Linked DNA regions of Homo sapiens: region 1 is linked to region 2. Evidence: promoter capture Hi-C in 16 types of primary human blood cells and fetal thymus (Javierre and others, 2016). All regions are on one chromosome and are shown on one strand. The core of a region is centred on a gene start or on the middle of the fragment in contact, and the rest is flanking DNA. Distances in the headings are between cores, read along the strand shown. Region 1 overlaps MTF1 (metal regulatory transcription factor 1). Region 2 holds the start of DNALI1 (dynein axonemal light intermediate chain 1).

Region 1 (2,700 bases), core at 93-2,592, 290 kb before region 2:
TATAGGAATTATAGGTCTCGATTTACATTTCACATAGGTTGTACATATTAAGTACTGCCAACATTTTGCTGTTATATGACATTGGCAAAAGAACCTGAATTTTATTTTTTTCTCCTCATATTTAAATCAGGCTTACTTGTTTCTTCTGTGATGTGCAAAGGGATAGTTTCAACCTAGGTTCCAGCTTTGTTCTGTTATGTACTAGCTATGTGGCCTTGGGCAAGCTGCTCTGTTTCCTTTTTTATAAAATTGAAATAGAAATATCCCATTGCATTTTGTGAAGATTAAATGAGATTTATTCATATGTAATATGTATAAAACATTTAGCATAGTGTCTGGTGCATCATGATTGTTCGCTGGATGTTCATTTGCTTTCTTTTCCTCATAGACCCCCATGGTTCTTGAAGGAGGTAAAGAGGTAATGTCCAGTTTAACAAGAGGTTAAAATGTTCTTTGTTAGGCACTCTTTGGGAGGTGTTTTCTCCTTGAGACAAGCTTACATATAAATTGTGATTAGGTTCCAGGATAGCCCATAGAAATCTTGGTAACCCCTAATTAGCTGAACTGTTGTATTAATACTGCCATGGAACATAAACCGCCATTTATAACTGTGTTTTATTCATTTAATTTTTTGAGACAGGGTCTCACTTTGTCACCCAGGCTGAGTGCAGTGGAGTGATTACGGCTCACTGCAGCCTTGACCTCACCAGCTCAAGCGATCCTCCCACCTCAGCCACCACACCTGGCTAATTTCTTATTTTTTTGGAGAGTCGCGGTCTTGCTATGTTGCCCATGCTGGTCTCGAACTTCTGGGCTCAAGTGAGCCTCCCACCTCAGCCTCCCAAAGTGCTAGGTGAGCACTTACAGGCATGAGCCACCTCACTGGCCCATACAACAGTGTTTTAAAATGAGAACCTGTCTGTAGTCCCCTGCAGGCGTTCTGTGGATACCAGCTCTTGCCACTCCTCTCTCTTATACTTGGCTTCCTTTGACTTAGTATCAGGCCACTGAAAATTATTTCCATGGTGGGCATTTGGGGCACCAGGCAGAGCTAAGGGCTCTCAAAGAATGAGGACTTCTATTATGCTGGCAATGGTGGTGGAGAGAGGAAGATGGCTGGCTGTTGAATACCTGATATGTACCGATCACTATGTTATGGGCTTTAATATAGTTTTGTATTTAATTTTCTTAGCAATCCTATAACATAGATACTATTAGCCCCCATTTTACAGATGACAGACTGACACTTAGAAACACACAACTAGCAACTGGTAGAACCGAGATTTGAACTGAGGACTTTCTGGATGCCAAAGCCTATGCTTTCTACCATCACACACCACTTTTGCAAAGATACAAGAATCAGGTATTGAGACCTGTTGGCTGTGAAAAGGGCTAAGAAATGAAGGGACAGCAGTACTTGTTCTGTAAGGGTAAAGGTTTGAGGTGTGGGGAACAGCTGGATGAAGTCAGCTCTCATGGTGGGGGATGGGAGGCCTGTCGAAATGAGATCTTCAGGGTTCTTATATTTCTGAGCTTTTTGGTTGTCCATTATGGAGAAGAAATGATACCAGTGCCGGTGTGGGGAATGGAGTCGGACACAGAGAGGGAAGGGAAGTCACTAGTGATGGGGAGGAAAAGGCAGTTTCTATAGCCATAACAGCCAGGCCAGTCATTTATTTATGAGAATGTTCATGTGCTAGGTGCCCAGAAGCAGGAACTCTCTTGTGGAATAGGGGGCTGTAAATGTGTGTAAAATCTGCTTCTCACTTTCACTTTCTTTTCCTCCAGGAAAAACCCAGCCTTTTTTCTTTTTTCTTTCTTTCCACAGGTGTTGACTTTTTTCTTTTTCTAATTTTTTTAAATTTTTGCCTTCTGGGGTCACAGTGTTTTATTTTCTCACTTTTGCTTATCCCATTCACCTTTCTTCTCTGATTCTGTTATCTTAACAAGGCAGTCATCTTTGTTAAATATTTCTGTATTCTAGAACTGCTCAGAACACTTTGTAAATCAGCATCAATTCTCTGAAAGCTCCTACTTTGTGCCCATTACTAGCATGAGATGTTATCCTCAGTGCACCTAACCTGTGCTCCCTCCATGTTCCCTAACAGGGTAATCGACAGCTGTTTGAGGCCACTCAGGAAGATTAAAGTTATGCTTAGAGCCTGAAGCTCTTTTGGAGGAAAGCTTTTTTTTTTTTTTTTTTTTAAATGGGGTCTCACTCCATCACCCAGCTGCTCATGTCTTTAAATTCAGGTTGGGGATCACCACCTTCAAGAAGCCTTTCTAAGGTCACTGAAGTCTGTTACATGTTTCTTTGGTATATTCCCATAGTATGCTGAATATCTGTTATCAGTAAAACTTCTCAAACCATGTTGTTCTTGTCTGATTTTCCTTTTGACTTTGAGCTCTTTGAGAGTAGGGACAATTTTTATATGTATTCCTAGCACCCAGGACAGTATAATTTCTGGAACATAATTTTTAGGATGTATGAATGATAAACCTTAGTTGTATTGAAATGTTCCAAATGTTGCAATACCTCCTGTATGTAACCATGAAAACCTACACGTTTTTGCAATTTCCTGCTCTGATCCAGTTTGAGGAGGTTTAGTTTTCCCTTTTTGTGAAATTTTGTGCTATTTTAAAATGATTCTGAAAGACACAGAATAGTGACTTCTTCTTCTCCCTCCAAATGAGGCAAGA
Region 2 (2,700 bases), core at 73-2,572:
ATTTGAAGGTGGAGCCAAAAGAATGTGACGAAGGATAGGACACATGCTGTGAGAGTGATCAAAAGGAATGAAAGGTGGTTTGAGTCCCTAGTAAAAAGGAGAATACGGGGGATGAGCAGATTGGGGAAGGAAGAAATTGTGATTTAGTTTGAATATATTGAGTTTGAGATGTCTATTAGATATCTTCATGAAGATAATGAGGAAGCAGAAGACTATATGGTCCTGGAGTTTAGTGGAGAAGACAGGGCTGGAAATACACATTTGGGAGCCATCAGCACATAGGTGGTATCTAAAGCCATGAGATTGGGTGACAGCATGCAGGAAATGAGGGTAGATTGAGAAGAGGTCTCCCACCACCCTGCCAGGATCCAGCCATATGTAAGTTCTAGGAGCTCTGTGATACTGGGAGGAAACCCCAGCCAGGAACAGAGGCAGAGTGCCTCCCCCCACACTCCCAAAATCCACGATGTAAAAGCTTAGGCCTTCTCCCAGCCACTGCTCCTACTTTCTTACCTTGGGGGTAGTATGGCATTCAAGATTTCTTCTGCCTGCTTTGTAGGATCTGGGACACAGGGAGTTGAGGGGAGCTTGGTCTTGGGTGGCTGTGGGGCTGAACCTGAAGGTCCAGGCTGCTGGGGGCTGACTTTCAGTAGCCGAGCCTGAGATGAAGGCACAGGTGAGGGCAGGAAATTGTTCAGGAGCTCAGCTCCACACATCCCCAACCTGTATATTGCTCCAGGTCTTCTGCACAGCCCTCCCCTCTTCCTAGCCTACTTTGGGTCGGTCTTCTCAGCAGAAATTATGTCACAGAGCTGAAGGAGGCCATGAAGTCTGGCCCCAACTCAATGCTTGAACAGGTGTTTCTGGCGCATGTGCTTTCACACCTCTGGTGATGGGGAAATCACTACCTAGTCATCTGTTCTTGGACCCGCGTACCATTAAGAAGAGTGAGCCCCATCCATCTCCCTGTGACCTCCTTCCCCATCCTAAATCTGCCCTCTGGGGTCACACCCAACATCTGGGCTTCCTATACAATCCTCTCACCCTCCTTCTCTGACTTCCCAATTCCCTTTACTCCCAGTCGCTGCAATCCCCGTCCCTTGAGATTCCTGACCCTCCATGCGGGAATGTGTCTTTCCCTATCGGAGTTTCGAGGCTCCTTTGTCTCCCGAGCCCCCGTCTTTACCTTGGGGCTCCGTTTCTCCGTGTTCCGGCTCACCAGCACTGGGGTGTCGTACTTGAGCAAAGAGTCTGCGGGCGGAATCATGGCGGAGGCGAGAGTAGCAACCCAGCAGCTGCCCTGTCCAGTGTGGGCCTTGTTTGCCGTCACCATGGAAACCGCCCCCTCACTCCCGCCCCCGCGCTTCTTGGCCTGGGCGGAGCTTCGAAGTGGGGCGGGGCCAACAGCCGGCAAGTTTCATTCTGTGCCTCCTGGGCAGAAACCTCTTGTGCCTGACTTCTTAGGCCTTCTGCTCACCGGTTCGTCCCTGTACTCTTGGAGGCGAGGAAAACGGCAGTTCGAGTCCCTATGCTCCGTCTAGCTAGCGATTTGAAGTGGGCAGATCACCTTTGCCATGCTCCAATTTTGTCACCTGAAAAACAGGAGTCATCTCCTGACTTCTCATGAAGGGTTAAGGGACAATTCCCAAAGGAAGTCATCTGGAGTTCCTAGGTTTTTTGAAGGTTTTTTTTGTTGTTGTAGTTGTTCCCAAAATGTGTTCATTGAGATTGTTTCCCACTCATCTTGATTCAGAGTGCTTTTAGTGCTGCTTCCTCCTGAAGGAACATCCTTCTGTAAGCCTTACTTTTCCTCCTGTAGGCTGGCAGAGGACAGTGGAGCAGCCAACACACAAAACTGCCGTTTGTGCATGGCTAAAGACTGTGGTGATTTTATAGCATCCTGGGCATTTCACATCCATGAAGTAGGAATTGGGGCTCTGCACCAGGCGTTTCTTCTTGTGTTTCCTCTTCTCCTCTTCTGGGGAGGGATGAAGGAGATCCTTTGCGAGAGGCATGTTCTCGTGGGTAGGTCGTCACCGCAAGAAAGGGCTTGTTTTGATTTTTAAATTGAGACGGAGTCTCTCTCTGTTGCCCAGGCTGAAGTGCAGTGGCGTGATCTCGGCTCACTGCAACCTCCGCCTCCCGGGTTCAAACGATTCTCCTGCTTCAGCCTTCTGAGTAGCTGGGACTACAGGCGCGTGCCCCCATGCCCGGCTAAATTTTGTATTTTTAGTAGAGACGGGGTTTCACCACGTTGGCCAGGCTGGTCTCGAACTCCTGACCTCGTGGTCCGCCTGCCTCGGCCTCCCAAAGTGCTGGGATTACAGGCGTGAGCCACCGCGCCCAGCCTGAAGTATTTTTCTAATTAAATGGAGAAATGACAAAGTAGGAGCCAATGGGAAACCTCCCCTTTGCCCCCTGAAGATTCGCTCAAAAATCAATTCACAAAAGGCAGATTAATTGGAGAAAAGGCATACAAATGTATTTAAAATGTATACACGGGGAGAATCACAGTATGATTACCCACCCCGAAAAGGGTTCAGAAGCTTATATACCCTCCTGGTAAAACAGGTTTGTGAGGGTGGGAGAAGGAGGAATTCTGTTCAGGGATTACTAGGCAGAATGAATGAATAAGGGAACAGAGATAAATTTGTAAATAGTTTTTTGTGTTTTTTTTTTTGTTTTGGTTTGGTTTTTTTG

What was found. Contacts are between HindIII fragments. The CHiCAGO score rates a contact against its expected background, and 5 or more counts as called.
Region 1: a contact is called between a fragment that was not itself captured here and the fragment with the promoter of DNALI1 in region 2, in 1 of 17 cell types (activated CD4 T cells). The highest score is 5.0, in activated CD4 T cells.

What each region holds. Positions count from the first base shown.
Region 1 is chr1:37,845,897-37,848,596 of GRCh38, reverse strand. All of the region lies in intron 2 of MTF1 (metal regulatory transcription factor 1), which reads left to right. Among named protein-coding and RNA genes, the nearest start is that of MTF1, 12 kb to the left of the region's middle. The HindIII fragment of the contact is 1,689 bases long and covers 498-2,186 here.
Region 2 is chr1:37,555,562-37,558,261 of GRCh38, reverse strand. It overlaps DNALI1 (dynein axonemal light intermediate chain 1), which reads right to left and starts at 1,322. Exons shown (of 6, transcript NM_003462.5): 1 at 1,187-1,322; 2 at 514-659. The coding sequence starts at 1,267. It also overlaps the pseudogene RPS27P9. RefSeq lists enhancers at 1,240-1,534, 1,745-2,700. The HindIII fragment of the contact is 2,071 bases long and covers 478-2,548 here.